Regions from separate parts of the Homo sapiens genome. Here region 1 is linked to region 2. Evidence: promoter capture Hi-C in 16 types of primary human blood cells and fetal thymus (Javierre and others, 2016). All regions are on one chromosome and are shown on one strand. The core of a region is centred on a gene start or on the middle of the fragment in contact, and the rest is flanking DNA. Distances in the headings are between cores, read along the strand shown.

What was found. Contacts are between HindIII fragments. The CHiCAGO score rates a contact against its expected background, and 5 or more counts as called.
Region 1: a fragment that was not itself captured here is called in contact with the fragment with the promoter of EXOC8 in region 2 in 1 of 17 cell types (fetal thymus); the score reaches 6.0 in fetal thymus.

The regions. Positions count from the first base shown.
Region 1 is chr1:232,948,663-232,955,576 of GRCh38, reverse strand. It overlaps NTPCR (nucleoside-triphosphatase, cancer-related), which reads right to left and starts at 4,966. Exons shown (of 5, transcript NM_032324.3): 1 at 4,833-4,966; 2 at 1-20. The coding sequence starts at 4,866. It overlaps LOC107985361 (a long non-coding RNA gene), which reads left to right and starts at 4,028. Exons shown (of 2, transcript XR_001738525.2): 1 at 4,028-4,249; 2 at 4,421-6,914. RefSeq lists enhancers at 2,378-2,587, 2,523-3,022, 4,151-4,690, 4,691-5,232, 5,145-5,244. The HindIII fragment of the contact is 6,029 bases long and covers 1-4,264 here.
Region 2 is chr1:231,333,506-231,340,185 of GRCh38, reverse strand. It overlaps EXOC8 (exocyst complex component 8), which reads left to right and starts at 2,334. Exons shown (of 1, transcript NM_175876.5): 1 at 2,334-6,680. The coding sequence starts at 2,441. The coding sequence ends at 4,618. It overlaps SPRTN (SprT-like N-terminal domain), which reads right to left and starts at 1,893. Exons shown (of 5, transcript NM_032018.7): 1 at 1,582-1,893; 2 at 318-417. The coding sequence starts at 1,802. RefSeq lists silencers at 609-658, 2,730-2,899 and enhancers at 407-1,281, 1,680-1,879, 1,282-2,156, 2,460-2,519, 2,560-2,609 and 1 more. The HindIII fragment of the contact is 2,369 bases long and covers 2,088-4,456 here.

The sequences.
Region 1 (6,914 bases), core at 1-2,500, 1.6 Mb before region 2:
CAATGTTGTTTTTCCAACTCCTAAAATAAAAAAAAAAAAAAAAAAAGAAGAAAAGCCCATTAGGAAACATTCCCTTACTAGAGCACACACAGCACTTGTGGACTCTGAGGCAGCAATTATGGTGGGTAGAGAAATGGGCTGTAAATGGATTTATGAATATGAACTTCAATTTAATTTTGATTGCTCCAGGTGCTAAAAATGCTTAATTTCAAGTAGAAACAAGCATAATAAAAACACGAATGATATCTTGAGGTTTATTTTTAAATTGTGAAACATTGTTAATTTTGTCACGTACACAATCCCAGAATCAACTGAGAGGTTCCTGATGATATTCTCCCATGCCATTTGCATCCTGTGAAATGGTTTACAGTTCCCATTTTTCTGCCCAGGAAGTAACACTGGTCACACTTGAGTCAGGGGCTGGGAATTTAAGATTTCAGCTTTCAAGAGATTACAAACGGACCTACACTTAACAGTGGGAAAATCACTTTGTTCCTCCTTTGACTTACATTGTTGTAACTCCTGAAAATGTGTCTCTTAAATATCATTAGCATCCCTGTTAATGGTCACTTTCAAACTTTTTCATAACAGCAAGCCTATCAGGTTAGCAACTCCTTCCAACATCATCTTCTCCAGGGTCTCTAAGCATTTCTTCACCTTTATCCCCCACACCTTCCCCAGTTTGAACCTATGTACCTCTGCCCCCTCAGCCTCCCCACCTTGATCCTTCCTGTCCATCCAGCCTGGTCAGCTGACTACTCTGATGAACTCACTGGTTTGTAAGCACCAACAGGTGCTACCTAATATAGTAATACTCATCACTGACGTCATGGAGCCAGACACTGTTCTAGCACACTTTGGAAGCATTTTCTTGGTTAAGTCCTCACAACCATCCTCTGAGGCAATTACCATCCTTATGCATATTTTACAGATGGAGAAACTGAGGTACATGGTGGTTAGGTATTTTACCCAAGGCTATACCCCTCATAAGGTCCATACCTTTCAACAGGGGACTTTACCTGTCACCATGACTTTTTAAAATATGAGCCTTGTTCCCAATATGGATTTAAGTAAGTGGCATCATGACTACCCAACAATGGAAAGAGAGAGAAAACTCCTAGCATGTCTGCAAGTGAGCTATTTTGAGATACTACAGAGTTGCAAATCATGCTATTTCTAAGACTACCCACTCTTTTAAGCCTCCTTGACATAAAATATGATCCATTATTCTTATTTAATGTATCTATCTTCACACTTCACATTAAAATAATGGCACCTGGCTTTCTGGAACATGAACAGCAACACAACAGGATTCTGGCTACAGTAAGCCACAGTGAGCATGCAGCTGGTAGAACTGTGTAGAACATAAAATGATGACATTCTAATCCAGCCCTGGCCATCAGTAACAACTGCTTTAGGAAAGTCACTAAAGAATCTGTTTCATGCAAGTAATGGCATTGCCGAATGTGTAAGCTGCTACTTCTTTTCTGAAGGGCAATTTCAATGCGCCTGCCACAGCACCCTGTAGTTCATGACTAGGAATTCATCCTCAGGAAACATCAACAATACAAATGTGTGAAAGAGGACATTCACTGCAACATTCTTTATAATAGCAAAACACTGAAAACAACCTAAATGTTGATTGTAAGGGAATGTTAACTCATGGCACCATGTATATAATAGCACATAAATACACAGAAATACCATGCAACCATTAAAAAATATACTGCTTATATGTATTTATTAGCATGGAAAATAGACCACAATGTATGAAAATAATATATGGAAAAAGCAGGTTAATAGCAGAAACCATTCCATTATGTTTTTTTTAAAGAATGGTCAAGTACGTGTCTACAGAAAAAAAAAATGTCAAGAAGAATACAGAACAAAGATTTACAATGTTGATTTCTGATGTTCAAATTCCCTGTGATTGTCACTTTCTTCCTTAAACTTTTCTTGTTTTTTTTAATTCTTATACTGAATGGGTCTTACTCTTATCCTAACAAAAATTGCCGTTTATATTTTGAAAAAGATAAAATGGAGCAACGGTAACTATTCCTGTTCACAAAGGGTATACTGTGGGGACTGTATGTTGTGTAGAACATAGTAGAGCAATAAATAGGAAGCATTTGGGCAAAGTCCCTTTTGGCTTCTTCAGCTCTAGGAATCTTCTTTCAGTTAATTTTTTCTTCATTAGTTAAGCTGCTACCCCAATGCTGTCTGGATAAGAAATGACCTCTGCTTCAGGAGACCTCGAGATGATAGCTGTATACCAGGCACAAACAGATCAGAAAGCTCTGGAATTATTTTGGTTCTGGTTCTCCCCTAAGCAGATCCTCAGATAAAGATTCAAGTGCAGGTAGTTTAACCTGGGCAGTGACAACATGATGGACTGGCAGGGAAGAAATTCAGAAAGGGAAGGGAAGGACACCAGCATGAGGTGCACTGTCAAGCAAGTTCCACTGGGGGCAGCTGGAGCTTCAACCCCCTGGGGAATCCTAAGGGACAAGTCAGGGCAAGTGGCTCAGTTATCCTGTCTGAGGAGTGAGAAAGTAGGGAATTTATCAACTAACTTTCACCAATCACAGGTTGAAGGCTAATCCCAGGGCACAGGAATTCCCTGGCTCTTCTGGCCTGCTCTGTTTGCAGGCCAAGTGGGCTCCAGGGACCAGAGAAAGCCCTCCAAGATGAGTCATGGGTACAGACAGTTGGAAATCGGAAAAAATGCTAAGTGCCAGGGGCACTAAGAGGATATGCAACAAAAAGTGACCTCTTTGAGAGGAGACTTTACCTGATGGTCTGAACATATTGAGAAAACAGAAAGAAACTAGGCAAATAAAAACACCTGACAATAACTCCTAATGGGGAAAAAAGTTATGTGTAAAAGGAAAAAAAAAAAATTAGAGGGCATGGTGGTGCATGCCTGTAGTACTAGCTACTAGGGAGGCTGAGGTGGGAAGATGGTTTGAGCCTGGAAGGTGGAGGTTGCAGTGAGCCAAGATTGTGCCACTGCACTCCAACCTGGGCAACAGAGAGAGGCCCTGTCTCAATAAGAAGAGGGAAAAAAAAGATGGGTAAGGTGGCTCACACTTATAATCCCAGTATTTTGGGAGGCCCAGATGGGAGGATCACTTGAGGCTAGGAGTTGGAGATCAGCCTGGGCAACATAACAAGAGACAGGTCTCTACAAAAAAAAAAAAATACCCGGGTGTGGTGGCATGCGCTTGTAGATCCAGCTATTCAGGAGGTTGAAGTGGGAGGATCACTTAAGCCCAGGAGTTTGAGAATGCAGTGAGCTATAACTGTTTCACTGCACTCCAGCCTGGGTGACAAAGCAAGATCCTGTCTCTAAAATAAATAAATAAATGGAAAAGAAATCATAGATTACTATGTGGCTCTGTTGTGATTGTCTTTACATGGCCATAATACTGTAAACATTGACTAATGAAAATTACGCTGTAACTACATTAAGAAGAGAAGGAGAAAAGACAAAGGTGCGTGGGTTTGAGGACAGGTTTAAGAGAGCTACACTGTAGAATTATTTGAGTCTTTCAACTACGTGTAGGTAAGACTTTGATAAAGCAGAAACAAGAACCACCATCAATACAATCACGGTAACAGGACACCTCCATTAATAAAACACACAGTTGTCTTGGGGTCAGCCTGCTGAGTATCAAACTGCATTCCAAGTTTCAAATAAAGGATTGACAAACCAACTTTCAGAAAACAGTTCTTTGCAATACTTAGGAGTGACTTTAGATAGCAGGCATTTCTCAAACCACCCTCCTCCTCCTCACCCCCTGCTCCCCAACTCCCCCATCCAATGCCTGACAAAATCCCAAAGTCTGCAATATTAGCTGTAGCCTTTGCTACTTACAACTAAACATAATCATTAAAATAAAGTGAAAGAGAATTCTAGATCCAGGGTTACAGCCTTTGATATCTGAACCCACACTAAACTTCAAAATTAGATTTGCCTTGCAAAGGAGCTGAAGAAATCACTTTCTCCACTCTTAGCCCATCTATCTTTTTTTAGCCTATCTGATGCAGCCTACCTGTCCTTTTTAGTAATGCTTGATACATGGGTAGCGCCTTGGTTTAAAAGCACCTCCTCCTACACCTCTCATCTGACCTCAACGCTATCCTGCTTCTCAGATGAGAACTCCACAGGCCACAGGGTTGAGGGATCTGACAGACATCAGGAGGGGACAGCGACAGGAACAAGCAAGAGTGTCTGAGAAGGGCTCCTGTAGGTACCAAAGCTTCTCCACCTCTGGCCTCAGCTGTGGAGGGAATTCGTGGGGATGGAGATGGGGATGGGGGTGGGGGGATGAACTTAGATGGGAAAGAAAGGTTACAACTTCAGTTTCGCTGTCCTCCAACTAAAATTTACCATTTTTTTTTTGCACGATCAATGTAGCAAAGACCCACAGTAAGGAAATACCTGTGACTATCAACAGAAATTAGACATCTCCACTTCACATCGCGGTTGCCGCAGATCTCTTGAAATACCATTTGTGCAGACCACAACGTCAACACTACAGTAGGAGTTACCGCTGCCGCTGGCCCCTGCGGTTTCTGCCCTTCATCAAGAAGCCAGTCTAGGACCCCCTCACAAGTGTGTTCTAATCCTTTAGGCCCTGTGTCTTTTAAATCACGTTTTCCGGGAAGGAGTACAAACTCTTCAGACTACCAAGCCCGCCATTTAAATTGGGAACTTCAGAGGCCGGAGCCCTGGAGCCGGAGACCCTCCCCGACAGCACAAGGTCGCCCGCAGCCCGCGCGCCCCCACCCCCTCGACCTCTTGGAGGTGGGGATCCCCTCAGGGTTACCTGGGGGCCCCGTTAGGAACACGTGCCGGGCCATACTGGTGGGCGGGGGTAGGGGTTGCGGTCAGGGGAGCAGTCCAGGTTGGGGTCGCAATTCAGGTCAGGTCCGGACCAGGGTCGCGACTCAGGACCCGCCCACCGCGTGTCGCAGGCCCCGCCCCCAAGCGGTGCTTTGACCGGAAGCACCGCCCTCAAGACCACGCATGCGCCTTCTCCCGAGTCCCCGGTCCGCGCCTGCGCATTCAGCCCTCGGCATTGGCGCCTGTGCCGCGGCAGTTCCTATAGGCGGAGCGGGTTGTACGGTCTCTTAAGTTTCATTCTGGGTTCAGGGCTTTTGTGGGGTATTTGCAGAGATAAGTGCGTGAGAACGTCAGTTATTAAACTATTGCTGCTTCAAGTCAGCGCCATCACCCAAGTTCTGCCCCTTGACTCCGGACCTAGGAGCTGAAATTGCCCAAGGCTGCCGGGACAGCCCTTTTGTAGAAGGTTTGTGACCTGGAAGCATTCCTCAAAGGGGGATGCCATGTTAATGACTCCAACTTTGTTCTCAAACATTCCTGCAGAATAGAATCAGCTGGGGAGTTTTAAACTTGCTCTGATGCCTGGGTTTCACCTGCAGTAATAGGGAGTGTCAGAAGACAAAATTACAAGTTTAGTTTAAAGATCTAATTGGCTTATATTTAGGATCTAGAATCGAGAAATAGATCATTTCATAAAGCAAATAGAGTGTTCCAATGAGTTGTGCAGAGGAGGTTGGCTTTATGGGCAAAAAAAGGCTGAAGAACAAAACAAAGAGTGGGTATTTCAAAGTTACTTTCCTTATAGGGTTAAAACAGATTGGACTTCGTTATTGTACTGACTCAGGTTAACTACAATCTCCTGTTTTTTGGGAAAACGGGCCTGTTTCAAAGTTCAGTTTGGTTACATGGCACTTGGCACAAGTGACTCCATTCTGGTTTGGTCTAGTCTGCTAGGACCTAGTGCAGGAGGTTAGTCCAAAACAATGGCCTCCCATAAATCTTGTTTAACATGAGTAATTGGTCTTGAGCGAGTCTTGAGCACCTGTATTCTTTTTTCTTCTTTCTAAACTCCAGGAAGTTCCTGAAGTGCGCTAGGGTTGAGAACCACTGGTGTAGGCAGGCTTCCCGTCCTCAGCCATGCATAGGACGCCCAGTTTTCCCTCTTTACTTTCACACCAAAGTGTATAAAGATCTCCTCTTGCAAAGAATTAAATAGCTTCTCCGTCTCACTTTACCACTGCAAGTGTTCCGGCCAACGAATGACGTGGCAGTGGCCTTGGGCCACATTTACCTGTAAACTCTTTCAGTCTAACATGTGTACAGCTTAATTTGTAGTCAGTCGTTCCCCATCCTGGCTGAGAAAGCAGTTCAGTGAGTGCTCAACTTAATTGGTTTCTGCCCACACATGGACCTCTTGGTTTCCCTTTAGCCTGAGACATATGCCAGTCCAATGATTATCTAAAAAAACAAAGTTGGATTTGTAAAATATAGCTGTCATCACCATCATTTCTGCAACATTTGTAATGCTCTATTATTATAACAGTATACTATTTATTATCCCAACTGTTAATGTAGGGCCTTCCACCTTGATTTATTTTGCAGTCCATATATGTTGAATACAGTGAAAAGTTGATATAGTAAAGTAAATTCATAGGAGGAGCTTCCAAAAAAAAGGAAAAAAGTATATGTATCTCTTGTATCAAAAGTACTCGTTTTAAATGTTAATCAGATAGCATTTTCCATCACTGAAAAGCAGTTTGGATTTGCAAGGCTCACCGGAAGTTGGGTTCTTTTGTTTTGTTGCTGTGCCTGGAATTCTGGCATCAGTTTAAGTAGCTCAAAGATACATGGAATTCAGATATGGTGAATCAACGTCTCACAAAACAGAAAAAAAGACTCCATAGTTGAATGTACTTTATCCATGGAAAATGAATTATTTGGATGGTAGTTCCACGGATATCTTCTTGTTAGAAAATTCATTGATTTGATGCTTAATTTCTACAGTTTCCTGTATGTGTTATTAGGTAACAATAACAAAAAATTAAATAGCTTATATCTCTTAGAG
Region 2 (6,680 bases), core at 1,085-3,584:
TTTCACCGTGTTGGCTAGGATGTTTTTGATCTTCTGACCTCGTGATCCGCCCGCCTCGGCCTCCCAAAGTGTCGGGATTACAGGCGTGAGCCAGCGTGCCCGGCCCCTAGAAGCCTTTTTTTTGTTTTTTTTTTTTTTACTATGAAGCACTATAAAAAACATAAGGTGTTCATTATTGTTTGCCCCATAATTCAAGCTTTCACTGAGGGCAAAGTGACTTTTTTTAACGATACATACAGGCGAATTCACAGCAGTCTAAATCATTGACAAGTATTTGTAAATTACTGCGCTAGGAAGCAAGTTTACACGAAAAATACCTCTACAAGATCCTTTCTTGGCCTCAACTTCAAAAGGGGTTCGCTGAGACGGATGGAACACATTCCACCCTTCCCTTCATAGCTGCATATCCCAGCACACCTAGAAAACAATCACCATAAAAATGTGTTACATTGGCCAAATATGCCCAAGTCCTTACACATTCTTGGGCAGTTCACACTAACTCAGTTGGCAGATGGCTTTCATGAAAGTATACCCCCCTTGGTTAGCAGATACTTGCATTTCACCTAATTAATTAGTTACAACCCCCGCGGGCGCCTCCCGCGATGGCTCCGATCCCCGCCGGGCAAGGAAGGAAAGCAGCGTGCTCTCACCACCCTGCTTGAGAAGGTGGAAGGCTGCAGGCACCTGCTAGAGACGCCAGGACCGTACCTGGTGTACAACGGGGACCTAGTGGAATACGATGCGGACCACATGGCCCAACTGCAGCTCCCCTTGCCCTAGCTAGGCTGCAACAGCTCAAAGGCAATCCTATTCTGCTACTCCCAGTCTCCTTCCGACAAGTTACAGTTCGGTGTTATTAACAAGCAGATATCTCCAGTAGCATATCTCCAAAATCATAACAGACGCCTGTATAAAGGAAATTGGTACTTTAAACACAATTTAATATCATATCTTAATTTGTTTGACAGTAGGTTGTTTTCTATCAACTCAAAAACAAGCATGCTGGGATACAACTGTATCTTAAACTTAACCCTGTTCACGTGCAGGAGTAGATTATTATTTCAAATAGGGATTTCTGAAATTTAGCGTGTAGAAAAAGAATCGTTTTAAAAGCATCACTGAAGATCCCCAATGCAACACACGAGCTAACTAAAGTGGGTTTCCTAACGGGAATAGAGGAGGAGAACACACATCCTTTGGCAGTTACTCTGCGTCCTCAGCACTTTCTTAGGTGCAGATTTGGTTGCTTCTCCCTTCTGGGTCCTACAGCACTATCATAAGGCAAATCAGGAACTTGTTATTTTCAAGTGAAGTGAGATTCAAATAAAAATCTCTTTTTTGTTACGGCCCTGAGTCCAACCGTGGCGGTGTGGTCTACACAGCTTTCTTATTGTTCGAGTGGGAGAAAAGGTAAGGAAGACAGAAACACGCCGAGGCAGGAATTGCCAGGTCCAAAACCAGACTCCCCTCATTTAACGCCCCCTGGGACCGTCGGACTAGAGAAAGGAGAGAAAACCAGGGCCGGGGGCTGCAGGAAAGCTGCCAGTCCCGCCTCTTTCCCCAGCGGGGCTCGGAACTCACAGGGTCATTCGCACGCTCCACTTCACCTCGACGGCCTCCAGCTGGCCCCAGAAGAATTGGTCGTTAAACTGAACAAACAGTGCCTGCAAGTCCGGTGTGGGGTCCACCAACTCCCACGACGCGTCCACTAGCGACAGGGACTCCTGGGCATGATCGCGCTCCGCCTCCTGCAAGTTCCACTCCTCCTGAAGCCGCAGTGCCAACATCAAGTCATCATCCATCGTTGCCAGGATCACAGGCGGGGTCCGCCGGCGTCAGGCTGGCTCCCCAGTTACGCCGCGACCCCAAGCCGCCTAGCCGAGGACCAGGACTAGCTCCTAGGAGATGCCGGCTCTCGAGACGGCCCGTCAATCCCGCGAGAGTTCGCGGAAACGCGCTTGAGAACGAGAACGGAGCTTACCCCAAACGCCGAAGCCAAGATTCTAGGGCTTTAAAAAAAGCAGTCAGCATGACACCTCCTAGTGGGCGCAGAACCTGGGCTCACAGGGCTCGGGCCCTACGAAGCTTTCAGGAAGCTAGTTTCAGCCTTTACTCTTTGCCGGTTATTTCAAACCTCAACGTCACGCTCGGTTCATGCGCAGTACCGAAATTTCTCTCGGCCTCTCCCTCCCCTCACTTCCGCAATAGCTCATCTTGCGCATGCGCTTTAACCGATGGCATTGCTGCGCAGGCGCAATGTCTGCGCTCGGCCCACTTGCGCAGGCGCAGTGTCTGACGCTCAGACCCGGCGCAGGCGTACTCGTCTCGTTCCCATTCCTGCTTCCTCAGCCCAGGAGCTCGGTTGGCCTTGGGTGGGTCTAGACAGCCGCGGCGGCTGCGGCGCCGATAGTGACAGTGAGTGCGTGAGACCCGGAGAGAAATGGCGATGGCGATGTCGGACAGTGGGGCGAGCCGCCTGCGTCGGCAGCTGGAGTCAGGGGGTTTTGAGGCGCGGCTGTACGTGAAGCAGCTCTCGCAGCAGTCGGATGGGGACCGGGACCTCCAGGAGCACCGGCAGCGCATCCAGGCGCTGGCGGAGGAGACGGCGCAGAACCTGAAGCGCAACGTCTACCAGAACTACCGGCAGTTCATAGAGACGGCCCGCGAGATCTCCTACCTGGAGAGCGAGATGTACCAGCTCAGCCATTTGCTGACCGAGCAGAAAAGCAGCCTGGAGAGCATCCCGCTTACGTTGCTGCCTGCCGCTGCTGCCGCCGGAGCCGCCGCCGCCTCTGGAGGGGAGGAGGGAGTCGGTGGGGCGGGGGGCCGAGACCACCTCCGAGGCCAGGCCGGCTTTTTCTCCACCCCCGGGGGTGCCTCCCGCGACGGCTCCGGTCCAGGCGAGGAAGGAAAGCAGCGCACTCTCACCACCCTGCTTGAGAAGGTGGAAGGCTGCAGGCATCTGCTGGAGACGCCGGGACAGTACTTGGTGTACAATGGGGACCTAGTGGAATACGATGCGGACCACATGGCCCAACTGCAGCGGGTGCACGGCTTTCTCATGAACGATTGCTTGTTGGTGGCTACCTGGCTGCCTCAGCGGCGTGGGATGTATCGCTACAACGCTCTCTATTCCCTAGATGGTTTGGCCGTAGTCAATGTCAAGGACAACCCGCCCATGAAGGACATGTTCAAGCTGCTTATGTTCCCCGAGAGCCGTATTTTCCAGGCCGAAAATGCTAAAATCAAACGAGAGTGGCTGGAAGTGCTGGAGGACACCAAGAGGGCCCTCAGTGAGAAAAGGCGAAGGGAGCAGGAGGAGGCAGCGGCCCCTCGAGGGCCACCCCAAGTGACTTCCAAGGCCACTAACCCATTTGAGGATGACGAAGAAGAAGAACCAGCTGTTCCTGAGGTAGAGGAAGAGAAGGTGGACCTCTCCATGGAATGGATCCAGGAGTTACCTGAAGACCTGGATGTCTGCATTGCGCAGAGAGACTTTGAAGGGGCGGTTGACCTGCTGGATAAATTGAACCATTACCTGGAAGATAAACCTAGCCCACCTCCTGTAAAAGAACTAAGGGCCAAAGTGGAGGAGCGAGTTCGACAGCTCACTGAGGTGCTAGTTTTCGAACTCTCCCCAGATCGTTCCCTGAGAGGTGGTCCGAAGGCTACTCGCAGAGCAGTTTCGCAACTGATCCGGCTGGGCCAGTGCACGAAGGCCTGTGAGCTATTTTTGAGAAACAGGGCAGCCGCTGTTCATACTGCAATTCGTCAGCTTCGCATCGAAGGTGCCACTTTACTCTATATTCATAAGCTGTGCCATGTCTTCTTTACCAGCCTTCTCGAGACTGCAAGAGAATTTGAGATCGATTTTGCAGGCACTGACAGCGGCTGCTACTCTGCCTTTGTGGTCTGGGCAAGATCAGCCATGGGCATGTTCGTGGATGCTTTTAGCAAGCAGGTGTTTGATAGTAAGGAGAGCCTCTCTACAGCAGCTGAGTGTGTAAAAGTGGCTAAGGAGCATTGCCAGCAACTGGGTGATATCGGACTGGATCTCACCTTCATCATCCATGCCCTTCTGGTGAAAGACATCCAAGGGGCCTTGCACAGTTACAAAGAAATCATCATTGAAGCCACTAAACATCGCAACTCTGAAGAGATGTGGAGGAGGATGAACTTGATGACGCCAGAAGCCCTGGGTAAGCTCAAAGAAGAGATGAAAAGTTGTGGGGTAAGTAACTTTGAGCAGTACACAGGGGATGACTGCTGGGTGAACCTAAGTTACACAGTGGTTGCTTTCACCAAACAGACCATGGGCTTCTTGGAAGAGGCCCTGAAGCTGTATTTCCCAGAGCTGCACATGGTACTTTTGGAGAGCCTGGTGGAAATCATTTTGGTTGCTGTTCAGCATGTGGATTATAGTCTTCGATGTGAGCAGGATCCAGAGAAGAAAGCTTTTATCAGACAGAATGCATCCTTTTTATATGAAACAGTCCTCCCTGTGGTGGAGAAAAGGTTTGAAGAAGGTGTGGGGAAACCTGCCAAGCAACTCCAAGATCTGAGGAATGCATCTAGACTTATTCGTGTGAATCCTGAAAGTACAACATCAGTGGTCTAATGCTTGGGTCTGTTTATATGTGTATATATGCAGAGAGAGAGCTTATATATTATTTATATTTATATTAAGTTGTATTAGCATACTCTATAGTTTCAAACACAACTTGAAAATTAAAAGTGCCCTCTTAAAAATACAAAAATCAAAAAGAGGAAAATAAGTTAAATTAAGCCCAAGTAACAAAAATACTGGAATTATTAAAACGTATAGTATGCTAGCTATCCTTTTAAATTATGCTAATTCTCTTCTTCTGAAATTATGGTCACACTATATACTATAGCATTTCGGTTTTATCCTTTGATAAAACTTTTCTTTTTTCTTTTTTTTTTTTGAGACAGGGTCTCACCCCGTCGCACAGGCTGGAGTGCAGTGGCAAAGTCTCGACTCACTGCAGCCTTGACCTCCCGGGCCCAGGTAGTCCTCCCACCTCAGCCTCCCATGTAGCAGGAACCACAGGCAGGCACCACCATACCCAGCTAATTTTTGTATTTTTTGTAGAGATGGGGTTTCGCCATGTTGCCCAGGCTAGTCTTTTCTTTCTTCTTTTTTTTTTTCCCCACAGTATATATTATACAGCAGTCATAATATCTATAAATACATAGAGTTTATGTTGTGAAGTTTCCCAGTTCACTGAAATGTTAGGTTTCCTAAAGGGTACAGTGCCGTATAAAACAACCTGCCTCATATATTTCTCCTCAAAACGTTGGACTATTTGGGAAAAGGAAAAGAGTTGGGAAAATTGGTTTTAAGGTAAGTTTTAGTCAAAAGAATTCTTTCTTGAAACTAGCTGGTTTGTGGATTCAGATACTCTGATCCTTACAGAATCCAAGAGGAAGCTTTCATAAAAACAATTCAGCAAATATTTCCAATATAATTTGAATGGCTAATTTTCAGTTGCTAATTAATTAGCAGCTTTGTAATACTTGATTTGGGAGCATTTACTTGGAAATCCTAAGGACTATAATAAAAGTTTTCAACATATTTCTAAATTGTGTGAGTTTCCAGCTGTAGCTTTTGTCTTTGTCACATTTTAAAAAATAATAAGCAAGACACATTGGGGACACTGGCAGCAGTTGCCAGGTTTTAGCTGCCACCGCTTCAGTATGAGATATAGCTGTCCCATCTTCCCCCATTCAGGGTAGGAGATATAGTGACCCAGACTTCATGCAAATGGAAAAAAAGTTTTAACTGAAATATTTATTTAGATTTCAGGGTCTAGATGGATGGGAAAGTAGAAAAACATATGCAAATCTCAGTGTTCTCACTATGACCACTCTGAGCAGAGATTTGGTTTTGTTTCCTTTTGTAACAAAGTGAAAACAGGTGAGACAATGTGCCCAAAACAAAGGGAAGAAGAGAACCTTCTGTGACTCCTAAAATGTTCCATGCTGCATTTTTGTTTCATTTTTTATTTTTCCTTGCTTTGTTTTTAAACATGAATATAATGCTTACTTCAAATTGTTTAGTAAAACAAAATAACTAAAGAAATGTGAGCTTCCCAAGGTTTCTAAACTATCGCTGTTGTATATTCTATAGCGTTCCTTATTCTTTGAGGGAAACTGTGCTTGCTGTGATCCATTTTGTCTCTAGCTTCTAGTTGTGATTCTTGTCCATAAGCACCAAATTTGATGCCCATGATTTCAAAAGGTCATTTCTTTTATCTGAATGAAAATGGTGGTACTAAGACTGTGAAAATTATGTGAAACCTAAAGTAGTTGCCAAAGTGGCTCAGGGTTGTAAAATTCATTGACTTAATTATTCATGTGCCAGATCAACCCCTTTATTTTCTCTTTAGCTGTGCATATTTAAAATATTGGAAAGTATCAGATTTACAGATTTTCTTTGACTAATTTTTTTCACATAACTTTAGGATTTTCGAAAGTTGTAACCATAACTGGATATCTTAGCTGAGCAAAGGCGGTTATAATTTGTCTTTTTAAGATCACTGGAAATTGATAAAATTTTGTGATAATTATGATTATTCTGTGCCATTTACAGTTTCTAATACTATACTGTATGAAATATGTATAAATATATGATGCTGAGTCTGTGGAATGATACTTCT